Regions from separate parts of the Homo sapiens genome. Here all the other regions are linked to region 1. Evidence: promoter capture Hi-C in 16 types of primary human blood cells and fetal thymus (Javierre and others, 2016). All regions are on one chromosome and are shown on one strand. The core of a region is centred on a gene start or on the middle of the fragment in contact, and the rest is flanking DNA. Distances in the headings are between cores, read along the strand shown.

Region 1 (3,379 bases), core at 650-3,149:
GGATCATGAGGTCAAGAGATCGAGACCATTCTGGCCAACATGGAGAAACCCTGTCTCTACTAAAAATAAAAAAATTAGCCGGGCGTGGTGGCGGGCACCTGTAGTCCCAGCTACTCGGGAGGCTGAGGCAGGAGAATCGCTTGAACCTGGGAGGCGGAGGTTGCAGTGAGCCAAGATAGCGCCACTGCACTCCAGCCTGGAGACAGAGTGAGACTCCATCTCCAACACAAACAAAAAAAAAGTCAAATTCATAGAAACAGAGAGTAGGATGGTGGCTACCAGGGGTGGCGGAAATGAAGAGACGTTGGACAAAGGTAAAATTTAAATTATGTAGAATGAATAAGTTCCAGAGATCTAATGTACACCATGGTGACGATCATTAATAATACTGTACTGTATACTTGAAATCTTCTGAGAGTAAATCTTAAGTGTTTTCACCACACACACAAAAATTCTAACTGGCCAGGTGTGGTGGCTCACCCCTGGAATCCCAGCAATTTGGGAGGCCAAGGTGGGAAAATTACTTGAGTCCAGGAGTTCAAGACCAGCCTGTGCAACATAGTGAGAACTCCTTTCTCTAAAACAAAACAAAACAGAAAGTATGTGAAGAGATGAATATGATAATTATCTTGACTAATAATCAACATCAAGTTGTATATCTTAAATATATAAAATTTTTAAAATAGTAAAGAAAATATAATCATCATTCTCAGTAATCTATTTCCTCTAGTTTTCTTCATAATTTACCACTTTCTGAAATTACATTACACATTTGTTCATTTCTTCCTCCATTAGAACATATGCCCTACGAGAACAAAAATTTGGTCTGTTTTAGTAACCACTGTATTCTTACAACACCTAAGATATAGCCTGGCATATAGTAAACAGCCTAAAAAATATTTGTTGAGTGAATGAATAAAACAAACTTGGAAGAGATTTGAGAGATAATAACAAATATTGACCAAAGAAGAGGGAAAGCTAATATCTGAACTGATGAAAAAGATCTTTCCTAATTGTAGTGGTTTTTGTTTTAAACCTAAGAGAGCATACATTGCTCCCTAGGGTTCCTACCATACGTTTTGATTTCCTAAACACTATCTAAGTCAAATTAGATTTACCTTCAAACAATTACACATGGTGCAGCCGTGCAGCAGAAAAAGCAGTAGATGGGGAGTTAGGAGACATATGTTCTAGATCCAGCTTTGCAATTAACTTGCTTTGTGACTTTGGGAAAATCACTTCCCTCCTGTGGGCCTGTTTCCTCATATGTTGGAGTACCTCGAGGATGAGAATGGATTTTGTTTTTCCTGCTGTATCCTAGGCGCTTAGAGTAATGCTGGCCCTAAGAAATCTGTTGAATGACTGAATGAATGAACAAACAAAAGGAGGAGGCAGTACTTCATTACTGAACCTTGCTTGTGAAGAAACACAGCCGGCAAATGAGTTTAGTTTACCAAGCGCTTTCATGTGTTTGCAGACAACACACTCGGTGTCTCGCACACGAGGTTAATCCTGCTTGCTTAATAAATAAATGAATGAGTGAAGTGAAAAGGAAAGGGGGTGGTATTTCCGTTATAAAATGAGAAAACTAAGGCCGAGAGTGGAAGAGACTGGGTCCCACCACTCAATGAGTGCTTCTCAACTCGGGACCCTAACCGGACCTCCTTGTCCTTGCTCTGATCAGGCGCGGGACCACGATGGCGTAACACTCTATTTTGAATTCGTCCCTAATCCTCCTTAACTTTCCTTGAACATGACCCACCGTCCACCATAAAGCTTTACCTGAATCGAGACCAAAATTCTCTACATGGTGTCCCTGAGACTGTCCACATGAAGACTCTTCTGGTAATGCCCGACACAGATCGCGCCGCCATCTTCGATGAGATCCACGGGCCTGAGCGCAGCCTTCAGCCAGCAGTGACGCGCCCAGACCAGCCAATCGGATACAATCCCAGTGGCAAGAGCTTTCTTTTTCCTGTAGGCTCCCTCGCCCTTTGCACGCTGGGAAATGTAGTCCAGTAGCTGTTGCTGGCGGCGTCTGGACCGCGGCGCTCTTTCCGAGCATGACGGGAGTTGTAGTTGAGGGGGCCTCGGGAAGAATCTGGGTGACGCCTTCTGGTCCGGGGGCGGGCGGTCATAGCGTTACTTGGCTGCAAGGAGGAGGAACTGGCAGCGGGGAGGAGGCTCTAGCGAGGCCTGAAAGGCTGCGTAACCAGGCAGGAGTAGGGGTTGGGGTTCGGGGTTGGGGGACAGCCAGGGATCGCGTCTGATATGCTGTTGGGGTCGTGACCGTCTGGGGGCCGAGGCAGGCACTGGCCAGACCCAGCCAGGGATCCTCGTATTCGTCGAGCCTAATTTCCAGCAGCCGGGTAGGCCTCACCAGAGGCTCCTTTCCGTGAGGCCGCCCCCAATTCCTGCCCCTATTCTCTGCCTGGGAGATGGCTTCCCCGAGCCCCCCGCCGGAGTCGAAGGTAAGTAAGCACCCCCCCGGGGATCCCGGTTGTCTCGCCGCTACCCCAGCTAGGCCGCACCACTGCTTTCTCCCCCAGGCCCCCCACCAACCTCCTGACCGCCTCTTTAGGGCCAGCGCCTTGCAAGGAACTCCCCACTAGTGCATTGGGGTGCGGTTCGCGAACAAACTGCCCACTGGCTCCCTTTTTTTTTTTCTTTTTCTAGAGAGACTTGATAAATCGGCCTGAGAAAATAAGTAATGCTCCAGACTAGCTCTCTCATTTGTGAGTTCTCCAGGTGAAGCACCATTTTTGACCTTCCCTTGTGTCTTCTGTTCCTGGCACAGTGCCTGGACCCCAAGGTACACGCTTAGAGAACCTCAAGGAATTGAATTGAATAGAGTCACAAGCCAGTGCAAATGGAAAATTGAAGTAGGCAATGAGGTGAGGGAAGCTTGGAGAGGCCTTGGGGCAGTTTACTAAAATTAAACTCTCAGGGCATAATAAATCAGAAAAGCCTTATCCGTAGGTCCTTTCTAGTCTGAGATGTCTGTCAGTTACAGTTCGTTCCCAGAATTGGGCAACATATGGAACTTTCAGTTATCATGTTCCTCCTAGCCTACTTGGCCACAATAAGTGATTGCCTCTGTCACTTTTAGTGGTAGAATTGTCCTTGAGACAACAGGAACTGACTACAGAAATCATACTATTTCAGGGGTTGCTGACATTTGAGGATGTGGCTGTGTTTTTTACCCAGGAGGAGTGGGATTATCTGGACCCAGCTCAGAGAAGCCTGTATAAAGATGTCATGATGGAGAATTATGGAAACCTGGTCTCACTGGGTAAGAATCTGCTGTTTCTCTAATTAAAATATCTAAGAAGGTAGAGAGAAATCAGACTAACAGAACATTTGGACGGAAACCAGTACC
Region 2 (3,379 bases), core at 314-2,813, 4.5 Mb before region 1:
ACAGAAAATAAAAACTTAAAAAATTAGCCAGGTGTGGTGGCATGCGCCTGTGGTCCCTGCTACTTGGGAGGCTGAGGCAGGAGGATCACTTGAGCCCAGGAGGTAGAGGCTGCAGTGAGCCATGTTTGTGCCACTGCACTCCTGCCTGGACAACAGGATGAGACTCTGTCTCCAAAACACAAAATTAACTTAGCAGAAAAATATTCAGTGTGCATCATTTAACTATTTTTCTTAGTAATATTATTTACCCTTGGTATAGACAATCCACAGAAAGTCTTATAAAAGAGATGAGATACTTTAAGGCAAAGAGTTTTAGATGTTTTAACTGGGATGTATTTCTCAAAAGGCCCTTTGGATAAGATGCTTTTGGTGACTCACCTGTGAAAGAATGAACGGAACTGTTTTCCTCCTGGCTCTACCACAAACGAGGGATCCCCGGAAACTCACTGAACCTTTCATGCCCAATGTCTTTAAAGCTTTCAAAAGAATCAGAAGTAGATAGCCACGGAAAACCCTTCATGTATCATCATGCATGGGATTCTATGAGGTAGGGACAAAGTCTCCAGTGTCACATATGTTAACAGCAGTATGGCATCTGTAAAGAGTGGAGAACAAAGCGACTGGGGGCTACTTTGGGATCTGGGGACAGAATCTCCGGTTACCCCTACCCTCAGACCTATGCAATGATGTGGCCTTTCCTGAGCAGCCTGTCCCTGGCCACCACCTAGCCCATTTTGCTCTTCTCAAAGCTGGCCCAAACCACCCACTGTCACCCATTGTGTGGTGGCTTCTGGAGGCTTCACCAAGTCTGGCTCATTCTGGGAAGGAGGATCAAGAACTGCTTCTGACCATACACATCTAGGATCTGCTCCTCTGTGGGCTCTTCTGCCTCTGCTCTGAAGCTCGGGAGGGAGGCCTAGGTCTGAGAGGTGTTCTCTTCCAGGTAAAACTGTTCACAGAGACCCCTGCTTCCCACCTCGCAAGGGCTGCTCTGTTCAAGGAGCCTGCGACCTGACCTGAGAAACCATGTTAGTGGCAAAAATCTGACTCTTAGAATTCTTTACATCAGACTTAAAAGAGAGACACCCTGACAATGCAGAAGGGGCCAGGAACCTGTCTGACCCAAGAGATCTGAAGACACACCAGAAATCCAGACTACATTTGACACATGGTAAGATTCCATCTACATCCACTCCCTGAGTATTTGGGGACATGACATTCTGCTAAGTGCTGTGAAGGCTGCAATGCTGGTTTTAGGCAGGTGTGATATTAGCGCCTGAAACGGGAAATAAATCACACCTGCCTTTGAACCCCAGCTCCCTCACTGCTAGCTTGTGACCTGAGCCTCAGTTATATTTAATGCAGATGTGGTTGTGAGGTATACATAGGCACCCAACGAATGGAACAAAGTGTCTTCTAAATATAACAGCAGCAGTCCGCTCATGGCTTAGTAGCCTACAGTCGGCTGTTTGCTTTACAGGTGGTGACTTAAAGTTTTAAACCAACGCCATGAAGCAGTCATTATTAATACCCTCACTTTCAGATGAGAAACCTGACTCTCATCCACGTCCCTACATTCGCCTCGGCTTCCAGTTGACAGAGATGGAACTTACCCGGGTTTTTCCAGCTCCAGAGCTCGGGGTCTCGATGCAGACCCACCGTCCGGGGATTTCGGGCACGTTGTCGCCCGCGTTACAAATGCGCTTTCCCCACCCCCGCCGCCGCTCGCGCCGGGCTCCGGTCCCGCACACCGCGGCCCGCACCCGGCACCTGCTCCGGACCAACGCTCAGCCTCAGCCGCCCCGGGAGCCAGCGGCCGAAGTCCCTCTCCAGCGGCCGGGAAGGCCGAGGGCCCGCCCGGTCGCATCCACTGACACAGGGGGCGGGGATCCCACAAACTTCCCGCTTCCTCTCCCGCTTCCGGGCACAAACGCTGTCCTCCCGCCCCAGCTGCGCCCCCTCTACTTTCCGAGCCGACCCCCGAGCTTCCCAAACCGCTTCCCGGGAGTCTCGAGAACCCAAATGAGGAGGCGGGGCTCTGGCTGCACAGGCGCAGAAGGAGCCCAGGAGCCCCATCCCAGAGTGCTGCGCGGCGAACCAGACTCATTCAGGACTACATTTCCCATAAGCTCTTGCGTCCGCCTTCGACGTGACTCCTCACGTTTCGGCGATTCAGAATTGGCGGGGATGGAGTTTTTATGAAGTCTCCCGCTCAGGCTCTCCAAGAACAGGGAGAAGTTAAAGGTTAAAACTTAAACGCTACTGACAAATACAAAGAGTAGCCCTCCATTGGTTCCCGGTTGAACCAACATTTTTTTTTTCCGTAAGACTTTCGGAGACAATTGGGAAGCTGAATATGGATTGGGAATTGCAAATATTGAAAAAAAGTACCATTACTTTTGTGAACTGTGAAAAAAAATTAAGAATTTTGTAGAAATTTTTTTTTTAAAAAAAGGGATCACTACTGAAGTATTTAGCATTGAAATGATATAACTTTGAATTTACTTTACAATTTTATACATTTTCAACCTGGAACCTCCACCTTGTCTCTTTACAGCCTACCCGACCCATTGACCTGTGAGCCCTGTCCTGGCGCCCCCAGGCGTGAGGGTTCTAAGGCGGGTCGAGCCCGGTGCTGCAGGTGTTAGAGAAAAGCTTTTGGTTTTTATCCCTTAACATTGCTTCTTGCCGAATTCTCTTATTGATTCAACATATTTAAATTTAATGTTAATTATCTTAGGTTTCCATGCGCATTAACGAATTTTCTTGCTTTTTGCTGATTGTTTTTTATTTCCGTAGGTTATTGGGGAACAGATGGTGTTTGGTTACATGAGTAAGTTCTTTAGTGGCGATTTGTGAGATTTTGGTGCACCCATCACCTGAGCAGTATACACTGCACCCCATTTGTAGTCTTTTATCCCTTGCCCCGCTGCCCTCCGCCATTCCCCGCCAAGTCCCCAAAGCCCATTGTGTTATTCTTATGCCTTTGCATTCTCATAGCTTAGCTCCCACTTATGAGTGAGAACTACGATGTTTGGTTTTTCCACTCCTGAGTTACTTCACTTAGAATAATAGTCTCCAATCTCATTCAGGTCGCTGCAAATGCCATTAATTCATTCCTTTTTATGGCTAAGTAGTATATCATCAGATACATACCACAGTTTCTTTATCCAGTTGTTGATTGATGGGTATTTGGGTTGGTTCCACGTTTTTGCAATCGCAAATTGTGCTGCTATAACCATGCATGTGCAAGTATCTTTTTCATATAATGACTTCTTTTCCTCTGGGTAGATACCCAGTAGTGGGATTGCTGGATCCAATGGTAGTTCTACTTTTAGTTCTTTAAAGAATCTCCACACTGTTTTCCATTGTGGTTGTA
Region 3 (3,379 bases), core at 533-3,032, 4.3 Mb after region 1:
GCTGTTCTCAAACTTCTGATGTCAAGTGATCTGCCCGTCTCAGCCTCCCAAAGTGCTGAGATTACAGGCGTGAGCCACCATGCCCAGCCTGTCTTATGTATCTTTAATAGAAGCATTTCCAATATGAAAGGGCATTAAGTATTTGGCCCTAGAGTTTATCTTGTGAACCTAACTGATACACGCAGATATACAACATGATAAAATCATGTATGTGACCAACTGAAACTAACCAAAAAGTCCAAATAATTATGGCTCATATTTAATTATTCTTCTCATACTCTGTTGATTTTATGAGATCTTTAAATTTTATAATTTTGAAGTGAAGAAAAAAATGTTACCCGGAATTGCCTTGAATTCTTGCAAATCCAAATTCGTTATCCTTAAGAGGATTGATCCATCAAGTTTAAAATAATCTATAATAAAAATTATAGTTTTTTTAATGTATAAAGCAGAAACTGTTTTCTGTTAAGAACCATATCATTAAATATATAACAGGAACACTTACAGTTCATTTTTATTGTGATAATTTTAAAATGAATATGTAACCAGTTCTAAAAGGGATATTACAAATAATAGTAGCAATGGGAAAAAGTAATCCTGGGAACCTATGGCAATGTTGAGTTGTTACGATATGTCAGTTAAGTTCTTTATATTCATTGTTATATTTAATCAGAGGAGTACTATAAGGTAGCTATTATTATTTCCATTTGACAAATGATAAAATTGAGGCATAGGGAAATGCTGCTATAACTTTCTTGTCTAGTAAGTGGTTGAGCTAGAATCAAAACAAGAAGTTTTTAACTTTAGAGTCTTCACACTTTGTAGCCACTATCTCTCACAGATTTGTTTAACCATCTCTTAAAGTGTAGTCTTCCAGTTGCTATGTGTTTTAAAAAACTTTCCCAAAGACTTTTATTTCTATAACAATATTTTTAAAAGTTATTAGCATTTTGGAAGAATTTTTTGATGTGTATAGATGCTGAAACTATACAAAAAGGAAGATATCCAGAATTTGATACTTTCTGTTATTTCTACTTCTGTTCCTATAATACTAACCTCCTGGATGATTGCAGGAGCTTCCTAAGTGGTCTTGCTGCTTCTTTGATTATCCCTTTGAGTCTATTCGTTATTCTTCATGGAGCAGACAAAATTATTACAGTTGGCCTTCTATACCCATGGGTTTTGCATGCTTGAATTCAACCAGCTGCAGATCAAAAATATTTGGAAAAAAATCCAATAAAAAATAACAATGCAACAATAAAAATAATGCAAATAACAATAATGTGTAACAACTATTTGTATAGTATTTACACTGTATTAGGTATTATAAATAATCTAGAGATGATTTAAAGTGTAGTGGAGGATGTGTGTAGGTTATGTACAAATCCTCTGCTATTTTATATAGGGGCTCTCACATTCACAGATTTTGAAGGAGAATCCTGAAACCAGTCCCCTACAGATACTGAGGGACAACTTAAGTTAGAACATGTCACTCATGTGCTCAGTAATTTCTTATCTTATTAAGAACAATATCCCAAACTTTTACCATGGCCTGTAAAACCCTGCAAAATACTCGCTTTCACTTTCTTTTATGTAACGTCTTACAACTCTATTCTTGCTCAGTTTGCTCTAGTCACATGAGCTTTGCTATTTCTTGAATGTTCCAACGTAAGGTATTCTTCTACCTCAATGCCTTTGTACTTTCTTTCTTCTCTTTGTAATCTTTTTTTCCTCAGAAGTCTCATATTTTGTTTTATCAGAGAGGCCTTCCCTGACTAAAGTAGCACCTCCTCTCCCATGACTATCACATCATCCTTCTTTATTTTTCTTCTTAGAATTATTGCTATCCAACATGTTATCTGTTGATTTTTTTTTTTATGTTGCTCTAACTATACTGGAATAATAGCCCATCAGAGAGTGAGCCATCATGCCTGGCCCCTGGCTAATGTTTAAAATTTTTATATTTGTTGAGATGAGGTCTCACTATGTTTCCCACGTTGGCTATTTTTTTTTTTTTTACTGTCAAAGTTATTTATTCACTATACATAGAACATGTCCCCTATAAAATGTACATGTAAATCACTAAAAAGTAAAATTTGGTGAACATTTTCTCAATTACAGAACATACTACATCAGTTGGGATAATAGCTGTCTACCTTAAAATAATCTAATTATAGCACCCAGTCTCGTTTATATCTAATGCAAAGTTAAATACTTATTTTGGGGGTTATTTCCTAGTATGTGTTTGGTGAGGCTGAGTAAACAATTTAATATAACTCCAGTATATTACAGTCACTGCACAATAAATCAGTTTATTACAGATTAAAACAAATCATTTTTTAATTATTTGTAATAATGGGATCAGACAAACACGGGATAATTTTAAATGGCATATAACCACACAATTACTTATCTTTGATAGTATATTGGGTTCTATAATTATATTAAGATATGAATGGTGTAAAATATTGTAACGAATAATACATCTCAAACAAGACAATTAGGCCATACTGTAATCATTCACTAGATTGTACCCAGTAGACATTTACTGAATAAGGGAATTATCTACTTTTCTCCTCAATTAACCAGTACAATGTTTTGCCCACAGTGTCAGCACTCAATAAATATTTGCTGAACATACTGACTAGGATAGAGGTGAGAAGAGATGGGCCCTCTTAGCTGGATGTCGAATATAATTGGAATTTACCTGGGAAGGAGAGTAGTTAAGGAAGATGTAAACTGCATGTGGTGTACAAGTAAATAAACGCAGATGCCAACAAAGCCAATGATTAAGCAGAAAACACTGACACCAAAATAAACAAAGGCAAGATTTGCCAATAATGGCGAAAATGGAACTTTTATATTGGACCATAACTTTTCCCACCTAAATCAGTTTGAGGCAGACCAACAGAGGCACTGTAAGAGACTACGGCTGTCTTCCTTGATATTCAGACATCCTAGTTTCCAATAATTTATTATGGACCTATTACCCATGAATCAATATACGCTTATTCATATTTAGGGATTAGTTTCCGCAAGTACAAAGTTGAATGTCCTTTTATTTGTCCTAAAATGCTTACTTTCAAACTTGAGGGGACTTCAATTATTCCATGTAGTTTTCGATAACATTCTTTTATCTTTTCAGACCAGAGTCAAAATATTTGTACAGTATTCATACTGCAGCACCTTCCACACACCCCTTTGTCACTTGAACTGCCCTTCTTTGGTTCTTTTTCCACTTTCAGATCTTTCTTGAAGTCTAGTAAGCACAACTGTACTGGATATTCCAGCTACAGTTTGGTCTGTCATTGTCGGAATGGCTTCTGCTACTCTGTGGTCTTCCAGCCAGTCTATTTCTAGGATTATATGATCTTCTATA
Region 4 (3,379 bases), core at 410-2,909, 4.3 Mb after region 1:
TACGATTCCACTAATTGACCATTATCTTTAACAATAGTCCTGAAAATATATGTGATGTAGACCCATTCTGTATGAAAGCTAGACAAGTTTGGACTCAACCAAGGAAGTCTGTATTTATTGTCAATTGTCGCATGGAAACAGCTTACGTTGGAATAATTTCGCTTGGTGATTGTTAATCCACCTGCAACTGCATTTTCCCTCTCTGTGTCTACGGACCCTCCTGACCATGCATGCTCTGGTATTTGGACACATTTATAAATCCCTAGGTACGATTCTTTTTATTTGCCCATATATCAAGTACATGTGTTCTCACTGCTAGTGTTTCGGTTTGATCAACCCATCTATACAGATAACCGACACTTTGTGGGTTCCCAGCCACAGCCATGTGCATTTTCTTTCAAACCTCACCCATCCATCTTATTCTTTTTTGTGACAGGGTCTTGCTCTGCTGCCCAGGCTGGTGTGCTGTGGTACGATCATATCTTACTGTAGCCTCAAACTCCTGGGCTCAAGTGATCCTTCCACCTAAGCCTCCCGAGTAGCTGGGACCAGGTGCACCTCACCACTCCTGGCTATTTTTTAAACATTTTGTAGAGATGGGGTCTCACTATGTTGCCCAGGCTGGTCTCAAACTTCTAGCCTCAAGAAATCCTCCCACCTTGGCCTCCCAAAGTGCTGGGATTGTAAGTATCAACTACCACACCTGGCGTCATCCACCCCATTTTCTAATCTCCTTCCTTTGCCTGTCATCTAGTATAACAAGATGCTAATTTATCGTGAAATTCCATTAGATCCCCTAAGACAAAAGATGCTACTTCTACATTCTGAAAAGACAATTAAGCCCTGTCTATGCAGGACTTAATAAAATATAACAGCTGGCCTAGTGAACTTCACTTTCAACAATCCAAGAGGTCAAGAATTTGAAGGGAAATTCATGGAAGGGAATTCAGAGGGCTAGAGGCTTTGCCTTCCTACTCCTCTCCCTGTGAAGAAAGAGGTGCTAACTTCCCCCAAGCCAATTCAGACTCTATTTAAGCAGATAAGAAATTATTTTTTCACGTAACAGGAAGTCTGAGAAGGACAGTTGATAACTTCAATGATCTGCTATTTTCTCTCATGGTCACAACATGGCTGCCCTAGCTCTAGGCAGAAAGACAAGGAGAAGGGCCAATGTCAAGGGCATAGTCCCTTTTATCAGAGAAGCCACATATTTTCATTGATCTATTTTTCTATTTTTTCACCAATATCGTACGTCTTGATTATCACCGTAGCTTTATAGTAAATCTTGAGGCTGGACAGTGTCAGTCCTTCAACTTTGTTTTTCCTTACTTTGTTTTCAGAAGCATGTCAACCTAGGTCCCCTGAAGTTTTATTTGCCAGTATCCTAACACAAGTTCACACCTTGCTGAGAGGCTGAACAAACTATATCTAATGTTTTAACCGGATACACAGAGTTGAATATGTGTGCTGGGTTATTCAACCAGTGGTGTCTGCCTTAACTGTAGAGGTTAGGAGATCTTGCTGTGTGAGCTCCATGGCATCATTGGGGAACCCACAAATAAACCCCATGAATGAGTCTGCATTGACAGCCTGCCATAGAGAAGAATATCAATAGCCAAAAGCAAACCAAGACAAAGAAACCAAAAAACAAAAACTATGACCAACATTTGCCAACTAGAAAGTCTTCTGTTCCTTTTCTCTAATTTCCCTCCTCACTGCCCTAACCCTAGAAGACATAGCAGATGAAAGGAGCAGAAGATGAAGAAAGGCTGGAGGACTCCACCATGCCCATTGCCCCATCAAAGTCTCTGAGACAGGCAGTCCTGAGCAAATGGGAGGAAAGAAGTTCTATATTGCATGTAAGATGGATGTTTTAACTGGACTGGACTTTTTATTTTATTTAAAAAATATCTTAAGTTAGCTGGGAATGGCAGCAGGCACCTATAATACCAGCTATTTGGGAGGCTGAGGCAAGAGAATCACTTGAACCTGGGAGGTGGAGGTTGCAGTGAGCCAAGATCCTACCACTGTACTCCAGCCAGGGCAATAGAGCGATACTCTGTCTTAAAAAAAAGAAAAAGAAAAAGAAAAAGAAATCTTAAATGACAACAAAGCAATGGGATCTGCTGAGATAATGTCAAAGAATGGGATGGGGTTACTAATGATTACTAATTGGTCTTCCTGGCCCTTATCTGGTGGGTGGCCTTTTCATTGCTGTAGGGATGCTGAATCTCTCTGTAAAGGAAAACTTCAAAAGAAGTATTTGGGTTCTGTTAGACAGGAGAAAACCTAGTAGGAGTACATAGGGAAGACTGATTGTAACAGAATAGTAACAAATTTTGGTCTGTCACTGCCCATGGTGACCTCTCTAGCACTTAGTTTCCTACTTTAAAATAAATGGGTTGGCCGAGCGCTGTGGCTCACGCCTGTAATCCTAGTGCTTTGGGAGGCTGAGGCAGGCAGATCACTTGAGGTCAGGAGTTGGAGACCAGCCTGGACAACATGGTGAAACCCCATCTCTACTAAAAATACAAAAATTAGCCGGGCGTGATGGCAGGTGCCTGTAATCCCAGCTGCTCAGGAGGATGGAATCGCTTGAACCTGGGAGGCAGAGGTTACAGTGAGCTGAGATCGCGCCACTGCACTTCAGCCTGGGCAACAGAGCAAGACTCACCCTCAAAAAAAGAAAAATAAATAAATTAAAAAATAAATAAAATAAAATAAACAGGTTAAAGAAAATGATTATACTAGACATCTCTTGGGATGTCTGCCTAGCTCCCTCCTTTCTCTTTATTTTTTTTGAGACAGTGTCTCACTATGTTGCTCAGGGTGGTCTCAAACTCCTGGGCTCAAGCGATCCTCCTGCCTTGGCCTCTCAAAGTCCTGGGAGTACAGGTGTGAACCACTGCACCCAGCCGCTCCTTCCTTTTTCAGGAAATTGCCTCTGATATGTAGGGATGCATCAGATCTGAACCACGTGACCCGGCCTCCCATCAGAACTGATTAACCAGGAGTGTACAGCTGTCCCAGGCCAGGACAGGGTCTTTCTCCTGGCAATATTCAATAGGGGGACCCAGAGGCTAAGAGATGTTGGCACTGAGTATCATCAGTGACTGAGAGAAGTGCACACCCACCTGTTGCTGCTGGCCCCAGAAATGCTCTACTTGCTTTCCTTGGGTCTTGACTGCTCAACTTTTCCTGGCTTTCATGAGATTCCCTAGTAGACTTTCAGCAAATTGCTCATTTTGCTTAAGCTGCACAGAACGGTTTTCTATTACTTGGACTCCATGTTACTATTTTTTTTAAAGGGTCCATTCAACTTCCAAAATTCATTTACTCTGTGATTTAATGGTACCTGTTACTCTTTAACAGAGATGTT
Region 5 (3,379 bases), core at 472-2,971, 4.2 Mb after region 1:
AAGCATTTCAAAATCTTGTTAACCTGGTTATCTCTTGGTATCTCTCCTGACATATTTGTTTTGCTTTAAATTGGATTAAATGGTTTACAGGTTATCTGAATCTACAGATTTAGTATGTCTATTATCTGGACATGATTTTGCTATGCAGTTGTGATAATAAAAATTCTAATTCCTCAGGTTTGGCCTTTTAAGTTATGGCTGAAGACCTTTAATGATACTTATGATGCACTCAGTGCCATACAATAGTGTTTTAAGAAGCACATGGCCTCATTTTCCTTAGAAACAAGACAAAGCCTTTTTAAAATGTTTTTTTTTCACTTTAAAATAGGGTATTCAAAGTGGAGTAACGTGTATTTTGAAATGATTTTGTGTTCTATATAGAATGTCCCAGTTAAGATTTTACAGAAGCACCTGGAATATCTCATTAAAAATTTAAAAACTCTTTTCCTGCTCTCTTTTGCTTCATTGTTTGATTTTATTAACTTTTATTTAAGTATAAATACAATATGCTGTTGGGGATGAGAATATAAAAAAAGTCATAGTTCCTTTGCCTAAAAAGCTTAACATTTTAGAGCACTACTGTTCAACAGAATTTTATGCAATTATGAAAAGTTATTTGTGCAGTCCAATACAGTAGTGACTGGCCATAGGCAGCTACTGAGCACTTTATATGTGGCTACATAGAGTTGCATATTGCTAATAGCCACTGTTTTGAACAGTGTACCTACAGATGGAAAATGAAACATGCTATGTTAGTAACTATAATATTACTTATGAATTTGGTTTCTTTGGATCTTGCTACATGTTGGGTTACATTTTGGTAGATGGTAACTAAGAGTCAGAATCAGAACCTAAACATTTTTAAAATTCTTGCTCTAACTTGAAAACAGTTTAAAAGAAAAAAAATCAGTGAGACTGGAGCGCCTGTAACTAAGAAGTTATGTAAGAAGAATGAAAGGAGACTGGATAGTCTTGAGTCACAGGAAGAAGAATGGACAAAGATTGATAAACCACTATAGAAGATGGAGAGTGAATGGGTGCAGCATTTCTGGAGAACAATTTTAGCAATATTAAGATTTTTAAATGCACATGCTCCTTAATTTCCTTTATAAGTATTTCTCTTACATATATACTCACAAAAAAGCCAATGTTCCTTGCAGCATTACCATAGCTAATAGTAGCAACCTAATTATTAATTGAAGACCTACAAATTTGGATGGACTTGGAGGTAAATTCCTTTTCCTTTTTTGGTAGCAAGGCACAGAACTGGTTCAAAAGGCCCAAGTTGCCTCAACAAAAGAATGTGATAACAGAATTTTGAAGGCTCCCCTTTTCTAACTTGCTGCACCAGCAAACTACCATATAAGTAGTGGTCTAGATATTATATATTCTGCACATTCCCCTCCCCAATAAATGTTATATAGACCATTATGACAATTGGCTTAATTAGAGCCTTTTCCTTGGTATACCAGTTCATTTGTGCCTGGCTGGGAGTTCTGTGGCATAAGAGCTCAGGATATTATGTGCACTCTACTTTTCTACTAAACCCCATTTTACACTTACACTGCATGGTGTATTTGTATTTATTTATTTTTGCACAAGGTCAGCACAAGAGCAGATGGTTAGATTTTGGTATTTCCATGTGATCCTACACAGCTGTTAAAGGATATGCTGTTAATGGAAGTGTATTCATGATATTAAACAAAAAAGTCATCCAGCAATATATACAGTACGATACAACGGGTGTGTGCATGCATGTATACTTGGGTAAGAGGGGACCCTGACCTGATCACCACACAGTCTTGCTGTGCTTCTCTTCATGGGATGAAAAATTGAGGAGCCAAGGGATTATGCCTACTTGGAATGCATGTTTCATTACCCACTTATATACTATATTATTGAAACAGTCTTTCGTTGTCTGAGATAACACCTGGAGTTCTTGTCCACTTATATACTACATTATTGAAACAGTCTTTCGTTGTCTGAGATAACACCTGGAGTTCTTGTCCCACCTCCAAGACGATTATGGAGCACGGACACAAAGGTGAGGTTAGAGTGAAAGTTTAATAAGGTGAAAGAAGAAAGCTCTCTGCCAGCAGAGAGGGGGTCCCGAACGGGAGTGCCCATCATGAGGCTGGGGTCCAGGTTTTTATGGACGGAAGGGGAAGGAATGTGCTTAGTCTGGGGGCTGTCTTGGCGAATGCGTGACTCGGCTTGGCCCGGGACCAGTCAGGAGGTGAAATGATTCATAGATGCTGCTTAGCTTGGCCCAGGACCTATCAGAAGCTGAAGTGAAGTGTGGCCGAGGACCAATCGGGCTGAGGTGATGATACACAGCAGCTGGACTTACAGTCCTAACAAAGGAAAGTAGAGCGCCCATAGGAACTTACCAGAGCCCACTGTGCCCATGCCTACAAAAGGGGAATAAACTTTTCCTGGGAACCTGCTGACAATACAAAGGACCAAGGCATTTCTATGCCAGGCCTTGTTCCCTTATCTGAGTGAGCTGGAGGTTTGTGCAAGTTTTTATCCAAATGGGCCGTAGGTTTTTCCATCTGTGCAGTCATGGGCATGTCTCCAGGCACAACACCCTGTGCTAGTTCCCTTATTGGTGCCTGCAGCTTTTTTCCCAGGCTGCTTTTTATATTATCTGGGGATAAGGCACTGACTCATGAGCCAGGGGCTCTCCAGGACCCTTCTCTTGTTACCTACCTAAGGTAAGCTAACTAACCGGATCCCCACACTCTTGCTGTGCCTCTCTTCATGGGATGAAAAATTGAGGAGCCAAGGGACTATGCCTACTTGGAATCCATGTTCCTTTACCCACAGAATTCTATACTATGTTATCAGCCAGAACCCCAGGATTCCTTGCCTCATCAGCCTGAAGCTTGCTTCCAGGATATGTGCAGGCCTTTTGTCCAAATCCATCCTGAAAAAAGACTACTACAGATGTATATACCCCTATGGCTGGCAGTTTGTGGGAAGTACAGATGAAGCTTGGATGTGCAGACTGAGTTGTCCACATGCATGCATGATAGGCCCCTGTGGCAGGCTTAAGCTAGAAGTAAAAAGAGACCCAGGGGATCAGGGAAGGGCAGGCCAACCTAGTATCACTTTCTAGTACACTTCTGAAGAATCTGCGAATCGCATATTTGAACCTAGATTTCTGTTCCTTGAGAATACATGTTAAAGTAGAAGAGTATAACATTTTATTTGTTGGTTAACGCTCAGCTATTTAGACACTGAAAATATGTCAGGGTTGGCTTTCATTTGTATTCTTGGCCCAGACCCTACAAATGTTAGGAGTCGGCCAGGATCCTTACATGTGTGCACAGCTGAGTGGTTTATAGAACATGAATATTTACTTGTAAGAGAGGCT
Region 6 (3,379 bases), core at 497-2,996, 4.1 Mb after region 1:
TAAGTGTCTTGTTCACAGTCACACAGCTAGCAAATAGTAGTCTGGATTCAAGTCAAGTTTTTCTTTACAACCCATAGTTTTTTCATTACCACGCTTCTTGCCTGAATTCTTTGCATTTCAATGGTGGTATGATTAAAGTAATTGAAACTTAAAATGTAACAGGGATAAGCCCCTATAAAGCAGGGTTCCCTCCCTCCCTCCCTCCTGTGGGCGCTCGCTCGCCTGCCTGCCTGCCTGCCTGCCTGCCTGCCTGCCTGCCTGCCTTCCTTCCTTCCTTCCTTCCTTCCTTCCTTCCTTCCTTCCTTCCTTCTTTCCTTCTTTCCTCCTCTCCTCTCCTCTCTTTTTCTTTTCTTTTTTCTTTCTCAGAGTCTTGCTGTCTTGCTCAGGCTGATGGCTCACCATGGCAACCTCTGCTTTCTGTGCTCAAGCTATCCTCCCAGCTCAGCCTCCTGAGCAGCTGGGACTACAGGTGCATGCCACCATATACTTGGCTAATTTTTGTGTTTTTTGTAGAGACAGGGTTTTGCCATGTTGTCCAGGCTAGCCTTGAACTCTTGGGCTCAAACGATTGACCCGCCTTGGCCTCCTAAAGTGCTGGGATTATAGGTATGAGCCATCACGTCTGACCTAAAGTTGTTTTTTTTTTTTTTTTTTTTTTGTTAAGCTAGTTAAGTGTAGTGAAAATAGTTGATAGATGATAAAGAACATGATTTAGGTAAAAACCTGGAATTTGGTCTCTCTTGTTGCCCCAAATAAAAATCACTATTTTAATTTTAATTTTAATTTTTTTTGAGACAGAGTCTTGCTCTGCCACCCAGGCTAGAGTGCAGCGGTATGATCTTGGCTCACTGCAACCTCTGCTTCCTGGGTTGAAGAGATTCTTGTGTCTTCGCCTCCCTCGTAGCTGGGATTATAGGCGCCCGCCACCACACTCAGCTAATTTTTTAAATTTTTAGTGGAGATGGGGTTTTGCCATGTTGGCCAGGGTAGTCTTGAACTCCTGCCTGACCTCAGATGATCCTCCCAAAGTGCTGAGATTACAGGCAGGAGACACTGCGCCTGGCCTAAAATTACTATTTTTATTTTGTGTGTGTGTGTGTGTGCGTGTGTGTGCATGTCTGTCTGCATGTATCTTTCCCCTTTTTTCAACTCTTTTGAGGGAATGTCTTAGCTTTCTATAGTAGAACTGTGAGCAAGAAAGTAGAAATGAATACCATATTGACATACTTATGACCACTATATATAATACAGATACATTCATTTTTCAATTGAACTTGGCAGTTTTTAAAAATTAGAAAGATAGTGAAGCAGACCTTTTTTTAAAAAAATTTTAACATAGTGCTTGTTTGCAATGCGTGGCTGAATGTAAGCAGGATTATTTATACAGTAAACACATATTGAATGTTTGCTGTAGTGCTAGATATTCTACTCTTAGGGTGGAAAATATTTTAAAGTTGGTGGATTTTATCTCCAGACTTTTAAAAATATGTTTTTCACTCTTTGTTGGCACTTCTTCCCAGCCACAAGGTTCTGATAGAATCTGGTTTCAGTTATTGATGCTTGTTGATTGCTGTTAATTGAATTTTGAACTAATTTATTAAAAAAGTATTAACGTAGCCAGCTTTTGCATTTCTATTGCATTATAAATATAGGTAATACAAGTTTATTGTAGGAAAATAAGAATATAAATAAAGTGAAAATAAAATAAAAACCACTCAATTCTGCCACCCAGAGATAACCTCTTCAACATTTATGTCACCATCTAGTTTTTTGGTATGCATATAAAAACTTTTCTAAAATTATGGTATCATGCTATATATGCTGCTCTATAATTTGCATTTCACATAATAAATTATGGATATTTTTCCATATTAATCATTCTACAATACTTTTAATGATTCAACAGAATTCTTTTGTATGCATGTTTTACAGTACCCTTTTGTTGTATCTTTTTGTTGATCCCAACCTTTTAATGTTATAAATATCACAGATAAGCATCCTTGTAGCCAAGTCTCTGCTTACACCCTTAATTATTCACTTACAATAAATTAGAAATGGAATTACTGAGTCAATGTATATCTATTTCAAAAATTTTATTTGATACATATTGTCAAGTTGCCCTTGAGAAGGGTTGTTAGTTTATACTAATACTCGCATCTCCACTCCAATGCCACCTTCTTTCATTAAATGGTAGGACCTCTGGTTTCTTTGGCCGACTATGAGCCTCCTTGACTTTACTGGGTAAAACAGCCAGTTCAAAGGCCACTGCACATGGTTAAGGCTTCTTTATCCTCTGGTGTGCTTTATTTTCCTCAAATCCTAGATGGGAGATTACCTCCTCATATGCTGTGATATCTTAAACTGGGTTCAGGGCAGAAAGGCAGCATTCCCCAGCCAGTTCTTTTACTAGCATTTAGACTTTTTCTCAGCTGGTAAGCTAGACAATCAGAATTGATTGTAGGCTGTCTCAGTTACATCTGTGTACAGGTAGTGTTCTCAACTGTTTCACTGTTAGAGAGGGTGTAGCCTTCCATCATTTAGGTATATTATGATTAGATTCCTGAATTTCCCAGTTCTCTTTTTTTCACCTTCTTGCATCACATCTGAGCATGATACTTTTGTTAAAATAACTGGTGAGATTCTGATTATCTAGCTAACAGCTGGATAGCGCTTTCTTGATTCCGCTCTTTATCACTGTATGGTAAACCTACCTAACAGCAGTAGTTTAAGCATACTATTAGAATGATCCTGTATGGCAGACTCACCTGAATGTGTCTTCTGAGCTTCACTGGGCTGTGTAGTTACCTTGTCCAGCCCACTGCCACTGGACCTTTTCTGTATATAAGGCAGTTCTCCTGCTCAGCCTGCCACCACTGGACTCTCTCCCTTGTATGTAATCCCTTAATAAAATACCATGCCTCATTTGGTGGCTCTGGGTTTCTTCAGCCTCTTGAACCTGGTGCCATCCCCACTGGAGTCGATGGAGGGGTTCAGCATGAAGTCACCTAATTCAAAGGACAGGTCTATGTGTGGGATGATGCAAGTGGCATCATTTCTGGTGGCATTATTGGGCATTTTCCAGGAATGTTACATGCTGATTTGATCAATCCCTTTCCTCTGGTTGCAGGAACCCTATGATTATTTCATACAATCCCCAACAGTTTAGGCAGCCTAGGGTACAGGCTCTGGAGGCAACCTCCTGGATTTGAAAAGCAGAGGTTCTGGGGACAACCTCCTGAATTTGAATCATGACTGCCAGTTGATAGCTGTGTGACCTAAAACAAGTTTCTTAACATCTTGAATCTTTCCTTTTTCCAACCATAAAATGTGAAGACTCATACTACTTTTTTATCAGATTTGATGATTAAAAAGTTACTCC
Region 7 (3,379 bases), core at 239-2,738, 4.0 Mb before region 1:
CAAACGAGGAGCACCCAGTGGGTACAGAGCACCCAGCTGGGAGGGAAACATGGATCCGTGAGTAAGTTGTCTCTCAACTTTCAGTAGCATCCCCTCAGCAGGGTCAGACTCTCAGCTTCAGCTTGCTAGGAGGGAGCTTGGAGCCGGCATATCTTTCTGCTCCCATTCACTTGAGAGGTATATTTCCATTAATAGCTAAAGGTACCATTCTCAAATAATTTCTAAGAGCAGGGAAGGGAAACAACCACATTAGAACAAGTCCTGGCCCAGAAGAATTCTGATCACCGCCCATCCAAACCAAACCAAACCAAAAAACCACAGATCTAGTTCATTAACCCTCCTACCAACACCTCTCTGCTCTCCAATCGTGCCGGTGAAAAAAATGCAGAGAAATGTTCTCTCTAGAGAGATAGGCAACAGCTTAATAGCAGAAGTAAAACTTGGACCCAAATCCCTGTCTCGTCCTGGGCTGCCTTGATGTGTATGAATGTGTTGCATACTGCAAATAATGTGAACTTTGCAGACCTGGATTGAAATCTGGGCTTCTCATTTTACAAATTGTGTGATCTTGAACAAATTACATGCTTTCTCTTAGCCTGGTTTTCTATGTGTCAAATAGAGGTACCTGGCTTACTTTGCAAGGCTTTTCCAAGATAACCACTGTATATCCTTTGCCTCATAATAATTGCCAAGCAGTATTCACTCTCTTCCTCCCAACAAACGGTCCATGTTTTACATAATTGGATTTTAGTTTTTTGAGGGCAGGGACACAAAGATCTTTGTGTTTACTATATAATATAAATGGGCACATGGTGGATATTTTTGCATTTCCTCTCAGCTGACATTCATTGAGCATCAGTTACGTGCAAAGTACTGTTCTGGGTATAGGGAATTGCCCCTGGGGCCAGCTGGATTAGCACTCACATCTCCTGTGCCCCAATCCAGGGCCCTTTGGTGGCACACAGCCTCCGTCTTTGGTAGTTGCACGGTGAGACTGTGAGGCAGCAGTTGGCAGTGCCTTCAGATTTCAGTCTCTGTAGATTGAAAATGAAGTGTAATCCCCTGCTAATGCCCTTTTAAGTGTACAGGTTGAACATGGCTGAATGAACTATTGTATTGTGCATCAAGAGATTTTAAACTCCTTGCAGAACCCCTCTTTTAAGTTCTCTGTGCAATATAATCTAGCTGGATACTTAATGTGAATATAAAGAAAAAATATAATCCAACCCCGAGTGCCTAATTTGTGTTTGTCAAGTGCTGTTTTCAAGAATTGAGATTTGACATAGAGTGCTTTGCATCTGGACACTTTCACAGAAGTTCCTTGGTGAAATTTTATATTTACGTGAACTGTTGTTTCTTTGTGCCAAACCTGCTTTTTCCTCCCTCCACTCCCACCTCTGTACTTTTGAAAGCTTCATTCTTGTCATTATTTCCCTGTAAGCCAAATATGTTTACAGTTTTGTCTTTCAAACTAAAAGTAATTAATTTTGCAATTTTTAGTTGAAGACATGTATATATGCCAATCAGAACTTGATCAGTGCAAGCTACCCAGTGTGACTTCAAAGTAAGCTTGGCATTTTAGCCTGTGCAGCTTTGTCATGAGTAAGCAAACTCGGTTTTCATTACATATTTGGACCTTATTTCAGCCTTCAGTGAATCCAAGGAAAGTTGAGAATCATGGCTCTTGCCCACCTTTCTTATCTTCCTTGTGAAAAAAAGAGACCTGAAGTGACTTGTCACAGGTAATCAGTAGCGGAACTAGGATTAAGACACAAACTCCTTACTAAGCCACTTTATTATCTCAGGGTTTTTTCGTCTAGTATGTAGACTTATGGAAATCCCTTACTTACGTACATTCGTGGTATGCAGTTAAAATGCACGAATAATTTGGAACTTGAGATCACAAGAATAAAAAAGATAACTCCCTGAAAAAAACTCTTAAGGAAGTATACCATCATCTGAGGGTATTAATCATCTTTTTCCTTTAAAAACCGGTTGGTGAAGGAGTAATTGAAGTGGTAACAGACTATGATTAGAAAGAAAAGAGCATTTAAAAGTGTCGCAAGGTGAGAAATCATTTATTGGGTAAAGATCTTAGGAAAAAATTTTCCCTCTGAGGCTCAGTTTATTGATTTGTAAGATAAGGAGCTTGGGTTAGCCTAGACGATGCCTAAAATGTGTCAGCACAGACATTATGGGACTTTAAGTTCCCGCTGTTGCTAAAATAGTGTCTTCAAGGAGAAGGGCAGTTAGTTATTAGAAGTATATGCCCTAAAGAGATATCCAGATACTTCAAAATTGAACATCTAACTAAAAGAAGCTAAGAGAGATTACTTGGTGTTTTCAGTTTACCCTAATAATTCTTCTGATTTGTTTTAAGATTTAGTGCCACTCGACAACTTAAACTGATGACATGAAAAATGTAGTAAGGAAGATGAGCCAAATCATACAGTTGGAAATAGTTGAGCAAGAAGAAACTTAGAAAAGAGAAGGCATAGGATGGAAGCCAGACTAGCTCAGCTAAAGGCCTTTGACACCAGTAGTTAGAGGAAGCAGATAACATGCAAATGACTGAGCCAGGGAGGATCAATCAATGGTAGAAGGCGTTTATCTGGGATACACCAAAACCAGGTTCTTCAGAATAGGACTTCCTTGGGCCATTTTCAGGTATAGTAAAGAGAAAAGCTGTGAATTTACAAAATGCAGTTTTGAAGTAGAGTGAGAATTATTTTAGGCCACTTAAATTATTTAAATTTTGTTTCCCTAAAGATTGTCATCACTCCCCAACTCCCCACCCCACCTCATGTGCATTATTAGTGTCTTGGATAATTAAGATTAACTGGGTATAAGCGAAGAAAAAAAGGAAAGCACGAAAGCATAAAAAAGATAGTCTCAGCTACTCAGGAGGCTGAGGCGGGAGAATCACTTGAACCCGGCAGGCGGAGGTTGCAGTGAGCCAAGATTGCGCCACTGCACTCCAGTTGAAATTCCTATGATATACTTTCTTTTATGCTTCTAATGGATGATGTCTAAGATATTAAACTTTATTTTTATAGTTAGAACAAAGTATTCTTATATACCTTGAGAGTATAATTGCCATCTTCCGAAAGTTTCAAAAAAAAGTCATCATGAGCCACGTAACAAAACTCAGAGCATTTCCAAAGTGATATAGTTTAGAAAATAATGACGATTTTTTTTAAAGCTTACACTTTCTTTTTCGTTCACTGCCTGAAGTGATGTTGCTAATGTGGGAATTGAAATCAGACTGGCAAGTCGTGCATTTGAATACAATCACATTTAGCCTTCCAGGTTTTACTGCATTTAACTGCTTCTCACCAGCTTGGAGACCCACAGTCTTATACTCCAAGGGATTCCCCTT

What was found. Contacts are between HindIII fragments. The CHiCAGO score rates a contact against its expected background, and 5 or more counts as called.
Region 2: a fragment that was not itself captured here is called in contact with the fragment with the promoter of MRPL50 in region 1 in 1 of 17 cell types (total B cells); the score reaches 6.9 in total B cells.
Region 3: a contact is called between a fragment that was not itself captured here and the fragment with the promoter of MRPL50 in region 1, in 3 of 17 cell types (total CD4 T cells, total CD8 T cells and naive B cells). The highest score is 9.0, in total CD4 T cells.
Region 4: a contact is called between a fragment that was not itself captured here and the fragment with the promoter of MRPL50 in region 1, in 3 of 17 cell types (naive CD8 T cells, total B cells and total CD4 T cells). The highest score is 9.4, in naive CD8 T cells.
Region 5: a contact is called between a fragment that was not itself captured here and the fragment with the promoter of MRPL50 in region 1, in 1 of 17 cell types (activated CD4 T cells). The highest score is 6.3, in activated CD4 T cells.
Region 6: a fragment that was not itself captured here is called in contact with the fragment with the promoter of MRPL50 in region 1 in 1 of 17 cell types (activated CD4 T cells); the score reaches 6.3 in activated CD4 T cells.
Region 7: a contact is called between a fragment that was not itself captured here and the fragment with the promoter of MRPL50 in region 1, in 1 of 17 cell types (total B cells). The highest score is 8.1, in total B cells.

Annotation. Positions count from the first base shown.
Region 1 is chr9:101,396,719-101,400,097 of GRCh38, forward strand. It overlaps MRPL50 (mitochondrial ribosomal protein L50), which reads right to left and starts at 1,900. Exons shown (of 2, transcript NM_019051.3): 1 at 1,783-1,900. The coding sequence starts at 1,874. It overlaps ZNF189 (zinc finger protein 189), which reads left to right and starts at 2,133. Exons shown (of 3, transcript NM_003452.4): 1 at 2,133-2,471; 2 at 3,166-3,292. The coding sequence starts at 2,439. RefSeq lists enhancers at 1,013-1,542, 1,543-2,071, 1,604-2,133. The HindIII fragment of the contact is 1,128 bases long and covers 1,775-2,902 here.
Region 2 is chr9:96,852,475-96,855,853 of GRCh38, forward strand. It overlaps ZNF782 (zinc finger protein 782), which reads right to left and starts at 2,040. Exons shown (of 6, transcript NM_001001662.3): 1 at 1,614-2,040; 2 at 379-595. RefSeq lists silencers at 1,373-1,462, 1,743-1,812. The HindIII fragment of the contact is 2,179 bases long and covers 475-2,653 here.
Region 3 is chr9:105,706,989-105,710,367 of GRCh38, forward strand. The region is part of intron 2 of TMEM38B (transmembrane protein 38B); the gene reads left to right. It overlaps LOC107987107 (a long non-coding RNA gene), which reads right to left. Exons shown (of 4, transcript XR_001746868.2): 2 at 1,057-1,204; 3 at 339-413. It also overlaps the pseudogene LOC100421293. Among named protein-coding and RNA genes, the nearest start is that of TMEM38B, 14 kb to the left of the region's middle. The HindIII fragment of the contact is 7,200 bases long and covers 1-3,379 here.
Region 4 is chr9:105,686,604-105,689,982 of GRCh38, forward strand. No RefSeq gene overlaps it. Among named protein-coding and RNA genes, the nearest start is that of TMEM38B, 6.2 kb to the right of the region's middle. The HindIII fragment of the contact is 8,166 bases long and covers 1-3,379 here.
Region 5 is chr9:105,551,990-105,555,368 of GRCh38, forward strand. FKTN-AS1 (FKTN antisense RNA 1) reads right to left here. Exons shown (of 3, transcript NR_184141.1): 3 at 2,046-2,354. FSD1L (fibronectin type III and SPRY domain containing 1 like) reads left to right here. Exons shown (of 14, transcript NM_001145313.3): 14 at 1-444. Among named protein-coding and RNA genes, the nearest start is that of FKTN, 4.5 kb to the right of the region's middle. The HindIII fragment of the contact is 2,328 bases long and covers 558-2,885 here.
Region 6 is chr9:105,452,409-105,455,787 of GRCh38, forward strand. All of the region lies in intron 1 of FSD1L (fibronectin type III and SPRY domain containing 1 like), which reads left to right. Among named protein-coding and RNA genes, the nearest start is that of FSD1L, 6.1 kb to the left of the region's middle. The HindIII fragment of the contact is 5,463 bases long and covers 1-3,379 here.
Region 7 is chr9:97,412,784-97,416,162 of GRCh38, forward strand. All of the region lies in intron 1 of TDRD7 (tudor domain containing 7), which reads left to right. Among named protein-coding and RNA genes, the nearest start is that of TDRD7, 2.4 kb to the left of the region's middle. RefSeq lists enhancers at 1-295, 1-159. The HindIII fragment of the contact is 157 bases long and covers 1,411-1,567 here.